3 separate regions of the Homo sapiens genome follow, and all the other regions are linked to region 3. Evidence: promoter capture Hi-C in human tissues and cell types (Jung and others, 2019). All regions are on one chromosome and are shown on one strand. The core of a region is centred on a gene start or on the middle of the fragment in contact, and the rest is flanking DNA. Distances in the headings are between cores, read along the strand shown. Region 1 has its middle 64 kb from the start of LINC02125. Region 2 overlaps GLG1 (golgi glycoprotein 1). Region 3 holds the start of GABARAPL2 (GABA type A receptor associated protein like 2).

Evidence for each region. The method cuts DNA at HindIII sites, captures the fragments that hold promoters and counts their contacts. A contact is called where the count stands out against the background at its distance.
Region 1: a contact is called between a fragment that was not itself captured here and the fragment with the promoter of GABARAPL2 in region 3, in 1 of the 25 tissues and cell types used here (pancreas).
Region 2: a fragment that was not itself captured here is called in contact with the fragment with the promoter of GABARAPL2 in region 3 in 1 of the 25 tissues and cell types used here (mesenchymal stem cells).

What each region holds. Positions count from the first base shown.
Region 1 is chr16:76,569,528-76,573,204 of GRCh38, reverse strand. No RefSeq gene overlaps it. Among named protein-coding and RNA genes, the nearest start is that of LINC02125, 64 kb to the left of the region's middle. The HindIII fragment of the contact is 5,663 bases long and covers 1-3,677 here.
Region 2 is chr16:74,488,989-74,492,869 of GRCh38, reverse strand. It overlaps GLG1 (golgi glycoprotein 1), which reads left to right. Exons shown (of 26, transcript NM_001145667.2): 8 at 1,655-1,869. Among named protein-coding and RNA genes, the nearest start is that of CLEC18B, 69 kb to the right of the region's middle. The HindIII fragment of the contact is 3,618 bases long and covers 645-3,881 here.
Region 3 is chr16:75,564,584-75,568,617 of GRCh38, reverse strand. GABARAPL2 (GABA type A receptor associated protein like 2) reads right to left here and starts at 2,239. Exons shown (of 4, transcript NM_007285.7): 1 at 2,098-2,239; 2 at 1,711-1,766; 3 at 409-581. The coding sequence starts at 2,131. RefSeq lists an enhancer at 1,024-1,777 and a silencer at 1,767-2,176. The HindIII fragment of the contact is 9,271 bases long and covers 1-4,034 here.

The sequences.
Region 1 (3,677 bases), core at 1,066-3,565, 1.0 Mb before region 3:
AACAGTACGCTGAGAAAGGAAATTTGGGGTGGGCTGCTCGTAAGGATGAGACAGCAGAGACTGGCACTTAGGGAGACTCCCTTTATGGTAGCCTTACACGATTATTCATAAGGAAGTGGAAAGAGGTGTTACTAGTAAGCATGTTCTGTGTGGTATTCCGGGTGCCCATGCGCAGTAGCTGTACATGCTTGCTCATACATCACATGTCACATTAGCATCTTAAATCTCCACCCAGGGTTGTGTTTTTACTATTATAATGAGCAAAGAGTCAGTTCAAAGACAGGTAAAATCAAAATTTGCGTGCTCGGCCGGGCGCGGTGGCTCACGCCTGTAATCCCAGCACTTTGGGAGGCTGAGGCGGGCGCATCACTAGGTCAGGAGATCGAGCCCATCCTGGGTAACACGGTGAAACCCCGTCTCTACTAAAAATACAAAAAATTAGCCAGGCGTGGTGGCGGGCACCTGTAGTTCCAGCTACTCGGGGGGCTGAGGCAGGAGAATGGCGTGAATCCAGGAGGCAGAGGTTGCAGTGAGCCGAGATCATGCCACTGCACTCCAGCCTGGGCGACAGAGCGAGACACTGTCTCAAAAAAAAAACACAAAAAACAAAAAAATGAGATGTGCATGCTGTCTAGAAGGGAAAGTCCCTACTGAAGATCGCTTTGCTTGCATGAGCACAATTACAATGCGAAGGCTGAGGCTTATTGTGTTGACTGAGTGGTCACCATGGTTGCTGCCTCCCAAGAGAACATGGTCACTTCCTTGAGTACCTATCCTTTCTCAGAACTGTATTAGAAAATATGATACACCCAAGGACTTATGTAAGACCATTGCAATATTGAAAACTCCCAAATTTTTCCAATTCAAATGCACTGCCTAATTTATTATTAGAACTGTATTAGAAAATATGATATACCCATTGACTTATCTAAGGCCATTGCGATATTGAAAACTCCCAATTTTTTCCAATTCAAATGCACTGCCTAATTTATTATCCTCAAACTATACCCTCTTTCTTTTAATGAAAATACTTATAACAGTGTTTGTAATTGTCAACCCACTGTGTGTGTCTTTGTGTATATATATATATCACGTTATATATATGTTCATGTTATATATATGTTCATGTTATATATATAACATGTTTATATATATATATTACATGAACTCAAAAGAAGAAAGTTTTGCATCAAATAATTATTGAGCAACCAGCTGTCAGTTCTACATGGTGGCATGATTACTGCTGAACAGGCAAAAATAAATAACTGATTATGACAGCACGCTTTCTTAAAATGTGAAAAATTGGAATGGAGGCTAGCATATTTTATTAAGAGCAAATAAGAGATACGAGGGCTGGACAATATAAGAATTATAACTGAAGAGCAAAGTTTTCTGTGCATCACACTTCAGGGTGCACCAGAAGTACTTTATGTATATTTCCCATTTTAACACACAGAACACTGAAAAGACTTACAGTCAAGGGTCAAGCTTTAATTAAATGAATAATTTTTACAACTTCATTAAGGACATCCTTTTTTTTTTTTTTTTTTTTTTTTTTTTTTTGAGACAGAGTGTAGCTCTGTCGCCCAGGCTAGAGTGCATTGGCGCGATCTCGGCTCACTGCAAGCTCCGCCTCCCGGGCTCAGGCCATTCTCCTGCCTCAGCCTCCCGAGTAGCTGGGACTACAGGCGCCCGCCACCGTGCCCGCCACTACGCCTGGCTAATTCTTTTGTGTTTTTAGTACAGACGGGGTTTCACCGTGTTAGCCAGGATGGTCTCGATCTCCTGACCTCCTAATCCGCCCGCCTTGGCCTCCCAAAGTGCTGGGATTACAGGCGTGAGCCACCACGCCTGGCCACATTAAGGACATTCTTAAATGAGTTTGGCTATTTTTTTCTTTCTTTTTTGCTTCCCTGTAAGAGAGGTAAAAGAAGGTTTATCTTAATTATGTTATCATATTATATATATGATACTTTAATTAAACTTTATTAATGTATTTGTTGATAAATAGATTGGTGTGCGGGAGGGGTAAATCTGTTTTGTTAATAGCAGAAGTTGCATTTGAGCATAACCGGGGTGCTTCAAGTTCTGGAGGTGAAAGTAATCAATTATTCCTTATTCTTTGCACCGGTACTTCCTTCCTTTTTTATGAGGTGCGACACCAGAAACTGACCCTTCAATTATATATGTACAGAAAACAACTTATCTTTCATCTTTATTTGATCAATATTTACTCAATTAACCCTGTGCTCAGTGCTGGGGACTGAATGTAAGACACAAAAAGACACATCTCCTGACCTCATGGGGTTTAGTTACAGTCGTGTTACAAAATTGTGCCTTCATCCTAAGAACAAGGAGAAAGTGCTAAAGAGAAATAGTGAGGGAGAGATGACATAAAGACAGGCTTGCAGAGTAGAGAATGGCTGCCATGTTGGTGTATTAGTTTGTTCTTGCACTGCTATAAAGAAATATCTGAGACTGCATAATTTATAAAGAAAAGAGATTTAAATTGCTTCACAGCTCTGCAGGCTATACAGGAAGCATAAAGGCTTCTGCTTCTGTGGAGACCTCAGGAAACTTCCAATCATTGCGGGAGGAAAAGGAGGAGCAAGGCATCTAACATGGTAGGAGCAGCAACAGAGAAAGGTGTGTGTGTGGAGGGGGGTGGGGGGTGCTACACACTTTCAAACATCTGGATCTAATGAGAACTCAGTCACTACGGCAAGGACAGTACCAAGAAGGGTGGTGTTAAACCACTCGGGAGAAACAGCCCCGTGATCCAATCACCTCCCACCAGGCCTCACCTCCAACATTAGGGATTGCAATTCAACATGAGATTTGATGAGGACACAGATGCAAACTATATCAGTTGAGAAGTTTACAGTCCTGATATGATAGGCTAATTAGGCAGCCACTTCAGTGAACTATCCAAGAGATGGCAATCTTGAATGGGGATTTTTGGAGAAAGACATATGGGATAGATTTATAATATAGTTAAGAAATAAATAGACTGTGGAGATGGATCACATAGGGAGTGCGATGAACGTGGACTCCTGGCTTGTTTTTAACTTTTCACAGCTAGGTGTATAGCATTGCTCTTCCATGAAATGTGAAACGCTGGAAGACACCAACAATGGGGAGTCGCAGAAAGATGCATTGCTGGAGTAAGGCGTAGAGCAAGAAAAATGAGGCTGATCTTCATGTCAACCCAGTGGTGGGTCTACAGGATGTAAAAGAGAGGGTATGTCAGAATCTTCTAGCTGGTACTCTGCAAGGATGAATATTCTATACTCTGGGGAAAAAAATGCACTGTCAAACATTTTGATTTTCCTGTCAATGTCTTGGGAGCTAGACCCTATCCTGTGTCTGAGTAGAGGTTTCCACCAAGAGTATGATTGTCACTGACACTAGGGCAGAAAGAAATCAGGCATTGACAAGAAACTGCCCTTTCTTTTGGACTGTGGCCTTTATGCTTGGGGGTGAGAATTGTGCCACCTGGGCAGGGGGACAAAAGTACTGAGGACTAAGTAAGAGAACCCTTGGAATGGCATGATTGGTGGATTCTAGGAAATGTGATAATGGATTTCCAACTGAATGCACTTTTTCTGCATATATAGTCTGTTATTTCAAACCCTCCGTAATTTTTATCTTAAAAGCTGTGATGTCATCATCATTGT
Region 2 (3,881 bases), core at 1,204-3,703, 1.1 Mb after region 3:
CTCCCATATTTGCTTCTTTGAGTATTTTTCTTTTTTTTTTTTTTTTCTTGAGACGGAGTCTCTCGCTCTGTCGCCCAGGCTGGAGGGCAGTGGCGCAATCTCGGCTCACTGCAAGCTCCGCCTTCCGTGTTCACGCCATTCTCCTGCCTCAGCCTCCCAAGTAGCTGGGATTACAGGCGAGTGCCACTGCGCCTGGCTAATTCTTGTATTTTTAGTAGAGATGGGGTTTCACCATGTTGGTCAGGCTGGTCTCGAACTCCCAAACTTAGGTGATCCGCCCACCTTGGCCTCTCAAAGTGCTTGGATTATAGGTGTGAGCCACCGCACCTAGCAATTTTTTTTTTTTTTTAATAGAGATGAGGTTTTGCCACGTTGGCATCCCGGGTCTCAAAACTCCTGCCCTCACGTGATCCTCCCACCTTAGCTCCCAGAGTGCTAGGATTACAGGCGTGAGCCACTGTGCCCAGCTGAATAGTTTTCTTGTCTTTTCTTTTTTTTTTTTTTGAGACAGAGTCTCGCTTTGTCACCAGGCTGTAGTGCAGTGGCACAATCTCAGCTCACTGCTACCTCCGACTCCCTAGTTCAGCCTCTGGAATAGCTTGGATTACAGGCACGCACCACTATGCCCAGCTAATTTTTGTATTTTTAGTAGAGATGGGATTTCACCATGTTGGCCATGATAGTCTCGATCTCCTGACCTCGTGATCTGCCTGCCTCGGCCTCCCAAAGTGCTGGGATTACAGGCGTGAGCCACTGCGCCTGGCCTAGTTTTCATTTTTGAAATACACATTGTGCAACATTTTGAGGAGACTCAGGGTAGCATGATTTAGCACATGGGTCAGACTTGGCTTCAAATTTTGGCTTTATCACTAAACAAACCGTCTGGGTGACCTGTTTTTGTTTTGTTTTGTTTTGTTTTAATCTTTTTGTTTTAAGTTTTCCTGGCCAGGCGCGGTGGCTCACGCTTGTAATCCCAGCACTTTGGGAGGCCGAGGTAGGCAGATCACGAGGTCAGGAGATCGAGACCACGGTGAAACCCCGTCTCTACTGAAAATACAAAAAAATTAGCCGGGCGTGGTGGCAGGCGCCTGTAGTCCCAGCTACTTGGAGAGGCTGAGGCAGGAGAATGGCGTGAACCCAAGAGACGGAGCTTGCAGTGAGCCGAGATCGCGCGCTGCACTCCAGCCTGGGTGACACAGTGAGACTCCGTCTCAAAAAAAAAAAAAAAAAAAAGTTTTCCCCATTGGCATTTACAGCTCAAAGAAGTTGGGGGAGCTTATAGTGAATATCTTAAATGTAGTCTTTTCTAAAAGCTTTAATTGTGTAGGCCAATGGAGATTGTTCTTTGGCTTTCATTTTTACCCTAATAGTTATCTTATTGATAGGATTTCCATGGGCAAAGCATTTGCATTATTAGTGCAGTAGTATAAAACCTGTTTCATGCAGAACAGTGACAGGAGAAGCCTGAATATCTGGAGTCTAAGCCTATTTTATGCTGCTAAAGCTTTTGCTAATTCTAAACTTTTCAGATGTTAGCATGTCTGATAGGTATATTGTATTACAGATAGAAATATGTACTTTTAATAGGTGGTGATTTCTGATGCTAATACATAGCATCACCCTTCGTAATGTTATGACTTACATCCTAACTTAGGGCGACAAGTCAGCAGTGAGTGCCAGGGGGAGATGCTGGATTACCGACGCATGTTGATGGAAGACTTTTCTCTGAGCCCTGAGATCATCCTAAGCTGTCGGGGGGAGATTGAACACCATTGTTCCGGATTACATCGAAAAGGGCGGACCCTACACTGTCTGATGAAAGTAGTTCGAGGGGAGAAGGGGAACCTTGGAATGAACTGCCAGCAGGCGGTAAGGAGACATTGCTATTGCCATTTTGAATGTCACATTTATCAGCTGAAGAGCCTCTTCCTGATGCTGTCCCACCTTGCTTTATATGGATCATCTGTGGTATCACATTGAACATTAGGTACTAATGATCAGAGACTGAACGTTGCTTCTTCAGGCATATCTTAGTAAGAATGTGACATTTGCTACAGAGCAAAAGTTTGAGCTCATAATCAATAAAAAGAATTGTCTTCTTAGATAGATAGAATGCATTATTTGCTAGAGTTCCTAAAGAAAGGGCAGCTTGCTAGACTGGATTTCCTAAACTCAGAATCAAGGCAAACCAGGTTCCAATCAATGACGACAGGCCCTCTACCAAGAGAGAATTTGCCTGTTGTAATAGATTTGATTGAGTTGAGGCTGAAAAAGAGTTGATATGAATTGAAATTTTTTCTAAGTTTCTAAATTTTTTCTGTTACTAATTTACCGCATGGCATGAATTCCTGGCCTGAAGGATCAAGAGAGCATGTCATTTTTGAAATCACACTATCTTTTCTTCATATACTAGGGCAACTATGCATGGAAGAGCCATTTTCTTTTTAATTTAATTTAATGTTAAGTTCCAGGATACATGTGCAGGTTTGTTACATGGGTAAACGTGTGCCATGGTGGGAGTCCTTTTTCTATCACTAAACCTCACAGTTAGCATACTTTGCTTGGGGAGATAAAGTTCTTCTTGATCTAGCGTTTATAAACAGTTGAATAACTGTAGGTCAGGTACAAAACACAAGTTAATGTATTAGAGATTTAGTACATCCCTTTCATTCCTGTTGTCCATGTTGATTACTTTTTACTGGATAGGAGTCTTAGAGCAACTTAACGTACCATGTGCACCAGTGTGCCCTGTGCAGTGAACTTTCCTTTGGGGAGCACAAGAGATAGTTTCGCTTTATATCCTAGAATAGTAGAAACTTGAGGCTCTCCTCCCTCAGTGTAACTTTAGAAAGCCACAATCAGTCTATTATTTTATAGTTAGCATTTTTATTAAAAACTGGATATCAACTCGAATTTTATTTTCCTGATAATCGTGTAAAATCAGATTTTTACAGTCTGAAACAAAACTTTGCGGTCTGAAACACAACAGTTTTACAGAATTTGGATGTGGAGTAAAATTATGTCTTAGCTTTAGTTACTCACCTTGACCCAGAGTAGACACCAGTGCATGTGTGCACGTGTGTCTGTGTGTGTGTGTGCGCACGCATGCGTGTCTATGCATCCCATGGTGGGAAAACAGACAAATGTAACTTCTTTAAAATACCAACCTGGGCAGGAGGGAAGGCTTCTGGAATCTGCCGTTTGATTTTGCCACAGTGTTGTTTCTAGGGTGCAGTTGTTACTGGTGACTTCCTTGGGAAACCTCTGTGCCAGTGTGGGTCCTGGGACCCAGACCAAAAATGAATCAGGAGACAGCCTATATTTGCACTTCATCCTTAAAGCAGCACAGAAAGGTTGTTGTGGCGGGGGTTAGGAATGAACCTACCTTTTTTTTTTTTGAGACAGAGTCTCACTCTTGTTGCCCAGGCTGGAGTGTAATGGCGCAACCTCTGCTCATAGCAGCATCCACCTCCCGGGTTCAAATGATTCTCCTGCCTCAACCTCCTGAGTAGCTGGGATTACAGTTGCCCACCACCACACCCAGCTAATTTTTGTATTTTTAGTAGAGATGGGGTTTCATCATGTTGGCTAGGCTGGTCTCAAACTCTGGACCTCAGGTGATCTTCCCGCCTCAGCCTCCCAAAGTGCTGGGATTACAGGTGTAAGCCACCATGCCCGGCCTAAACCTGTCTTTTTACTGAGGCTACACTTGTAGTAAGGGATACAGAAAAAAGAAAATAGACTGGTTTGACTTTATTTCGAGGCACCTAATTCACACCCAGGGCTTTTTAAAATGTAGCTTGTTGAAAGAACTAGTGACTCAGCTTGAAAGATACATAAGTACTTCCCACATCACCCTGTGTGTCCAGAAGAAAAGTACT
Region 3 (4,034 bases), core at 990-3,489:
CAAGCAAACTGGATGATTAACTGAGTGAGCCTCAGCAGGGCCCACAGGCTCCCAGTGGAGGAGCATGCCAGGACTGCCTTCAGGGAAGAAAACCTCATTTCAGGCCTCAGTTCTACCTATAGCTTAAGACTAAATAAGTTCTCAACCGTTTTAAAAGATTCTTGGAGATCTTAGGCTGAGTTTCATCATTTTTTTAAAAGTCCAGGCCTTGTTCTATTTTCTGAATCCAAAATGCACTCTTATGTATTGCAGCCATTATTTTCCTGGAGCCCCTGATGTCAGGGAGCATAAAATCCAGATTTCTAGTCAGGACCCCTAAGAGTTTTCAGACTTCCAAAGTTTTGGAGTTCCGTAAGCAGCCAACCAGATGTCTAATACCAGAGGGCCCATCTAGTAAACACCTCTCACCTGGACTGTGGGACTGTCTTATCCACAAACAGGAAGATCGCCTTTTCAGAAGGAAGCTGGATCCTTTTCCTGATGATCCACATGAACTGAGCCACAGTGATATCAGATGGAACCAAGTACTTCCGTTTGTCAATGTCAACAATCTGAGAGCCTGAGACCTTTTCCACAATCACCTGGGAAAGTAAAGAGAGGTCAGGACTGTGTTTCCTAAAGCGAGGCTCTGGCCTCACATGGCTGAGGAGCTGATGAACAGAGTGTGGGCAAGGAGGTGGGTGGGGAACTGCATAGCAGGAGAAAATATGTCTTTGGCTTAATAAACCACACGCTCTGGAGGTTAAGAATTGATATAAATGTGTTACAGGGAAACAGTAAGTGCTTTTCTGTGGTCAATTATGTAAGAGAAATGCAGCCCTTACCACTAAGCTTTTCCACATTTTATCTGGGCAGACCTAAGAATATCTGGGGAGGGTTTCATCCATGGCCCGTTACTCCAGGACCCCAGAATGGATCCACCTTCACACTACAGGAAACACTACTGTGTTCCCAAGGAACACAGGAGACAAGAATGGATGGACTAATTGGAATGCCTGGAATTTTAGCCAGCCAAGAACCAAGTTCTTCATTTGGCCTGTTGCTCCTCTCTGAACAAGTTTCAAATCCGTCCCTCCTACTCCTTTCCCCAGACAAATTATTCACAAGCAAAGAGCTACAATAACAGGCCTTAATGTCCATTAAAAATTAATAACGATTACAAAACTATCTCCCCAACCATGGAAGAAATATAACATTATATTTATTATTGACTAAGAAGAAAATATGGCAGAAGGGGTTTTCAGCGGCTTTTCACATTATTTTGGTCAGGCAAGGATGACAGGGTCAAGGTGAGATAACGGAGCTAGAAGTTAGGTAAAGATGGAGACAAAGTAAAAGATGAACGTCCTGAGACTCAAGTACCACTTCCAAGACCAAAATGACAGTCTCCCTCCACCACCATTCCCAAAAGTGGCAGTGACCTGTTGCCCTGTCCTAGAACATCGTTCCTTACATAATTGGCCAGGGAGCCCCGAGGCTGCAGACGGCTCGCTGGCCTAGATCGGGAGATTCAGCACTGAGGCACCCTGAACAGCACCAGCCCGAGCCCCTCACGCCCCGGCCCTGGGCGGCCTCATCCCGGTCTGGCCCGTCAGCTACTGTAACTGGGACTGGAACCTCAACTTGTCAACTGTTGAATGGCCTGGGGCCTATCACGGGTCCCAGACGACAGAGGTGACAGCGAGGTGAGGGGGCGGAGAGTCCACTCACCGGAACCCTGTCGGGATATTTCGCTCGAATCTTCGCGGACTCCACGCATCTGTGTTCTGTGGGAGAAACAAACGGGGCTGACGGCCGCGCCTGCCCACCGGTCGGTTCCCGGCCCCCGGCCCTCCTCCTCCTGCGCCCTGCGTACAACCCAGGCCCTGGTTCCGGCGTCCCCGGGGCCGCGGTCCTGTCCCCTACTAGCTCCCAGCAAGGCCCGCGGAGGGTGACATGGGGTCAGGGGGCCGCTGCCCGAGGCACCAGGGCATGGGCGACTCCAGCCCGCAGCAGGGCATCCGCCCCGCTCCACTCGGCCCAGGGCCGCCCGAGTGGGGGAGGGGGCCCACCCGCCGCCCCAGCCCCCAGCAGCCGGGCCGACGACCAAGTGCTTACCCAGCGAGTGGTCCTCCTTGAACATCCACTTCATGGCGGCGGCGGGAAGGGGACGGAACCGGCTCGCGGAGCCGCGGAGCTCAGCGCACCGAGCACAACAACAACGACGGCGGCAGCGGCAGCGGCAGCGACGGCGGCGACTACACGGCAGGCGGGACTTCCGGCTGTCGGAGCCTAGCAACCGGCCGGGGGCGGGGCTTCCGGCGCCATTTGTCAGGGCGCCACGCCAAGGGGCGGGGCCGCACGTAAAGGGGCGGGGCCGCGGAGGACCCCTTTGGGGGCTCCTGGGCTGCGGTGGCGAAGAAGTTGGTTATGGGGACGTCTGTGAGCAGTATCTGCGACATTGCTCGCAGGAATGTTCGGGGAACTGGTGACAGGAGTGGGGTCTCGGGAGCGTTGGTGGCGGAAAACGTCTGGCTGATAGTGTAGGGCTCTTACTGAGGGCTGTTTGGGGGTGTGGCTGATAGCTGAGGGCTCTTAGAGCGGTTCATAGGGGAAGTCTGGGGAATTGGTGACAAGAACGGTCTTTAGGGGTAAGAATGACATAAGGAGGGCTTTCTAGAGCTTGGCGATAACAAGGGAGCTGTTTAGGGCGTTGACAGTTTGGGGAGTATTGCTCGGAGTGGTGACAGGTTGGGGGCTCATTATGGGAGGGGAGGGTGTTTGAGGACACTGTTGGAAGCGGCACTGAGGACAACCCGGAGGTCCGTATTAGGGACAGCCGTAGTAGGTTGTCTTGGACCTAGAAATTGAATTTAAACAAATCCCGTTTTCTTCCTTTATTCGTGAATAAATATTTGAATAAACATTTACGAAAAGGTATCACAAATGCACATTTGAGGCGGGGTACGGTGGCTCACGCCTGTAATCCCAACACTTTGGGAGGCCGACGCGGGTGGATCACCTGAGGTCAGGAGTTGAAGACCAGCCTGGCCAACATGGTGAAACCCCGTCTCTACTAAAAATACAAAAATTAGCCAGGCATGGTAGTGGGCGCCTGTAGTCCCAGCTCCTCGGGAGGCTGAGGCAGGAGAATCGTTTGAACCAGGGAGGTGGAGGTGGCAGTGAGCCGAGATCACACCACTGCACTCCAGCCTGGGCAACAGAGCAAGACTCCGCCTCAAAAAAAAATGCACATTTGAGGAGTGTAACATCACTGATCACAGACCCCTTAATTTTAACTGGCAGAGGAGTTAGAGGTGACTGTCAGACTCGGAGAATTCCCCTGAGAGCTGGTCATGAGATGGGTTTCCTTATTTGGCTGTGGGAGTGGTTTAGCAATCACAGCCTGAGCTGTGTGTGTGTCACCTGCCCGGACATATGCTTTGAGGTTCTCCAATCAGTGATGTAATGCCTTTTTTCCAAGCAGACTCATCAAGGCAGTCTGGTCTGGGTCACCATCTGTTTATAAGCTGCTGAACATGTAGCAGGAATATTCACTTAATTGGGCACATGAACCCTGCCACGTGCTTGTGATTCTGATGCACCTGTAAAGCCTGTATGTTTGAATGTGGTAGTTCATCATTTCCTACACTGGAAATTCCTGATCGATGCTGTGGAATCTAGCTTCATTCTATAAGTATTTTTGTTATTTTAAGACTGTGTGTCTGAGTAACTAGAATAGGTTTTTTTGTTTCTTTGTTTTTGTTTTTGTTTTTTGGAGACAGGGTCTTTCTCTGTCACCCAGGCTGGAGTTCAGTGGCACAATCTTGGCTTACTGCAGTCTGCCTCCTGGGTTCAAGCGATTCTGCTGCCTCAGCCTCCTGAGTAGCTGGGACTACAGGGACACACCACCACACCCAGCTAATTTTTGTATTTTTGGTAGAGATGGGGTTTTGTCATGTTCGCCAGGCTGGTCTTGAACTTCTCACCTCAAGTAAGTGATTTGCCCGCCTCGGCCTCCCAAAGTGCTAGGATTACAGGTGTGAGCCACTGCA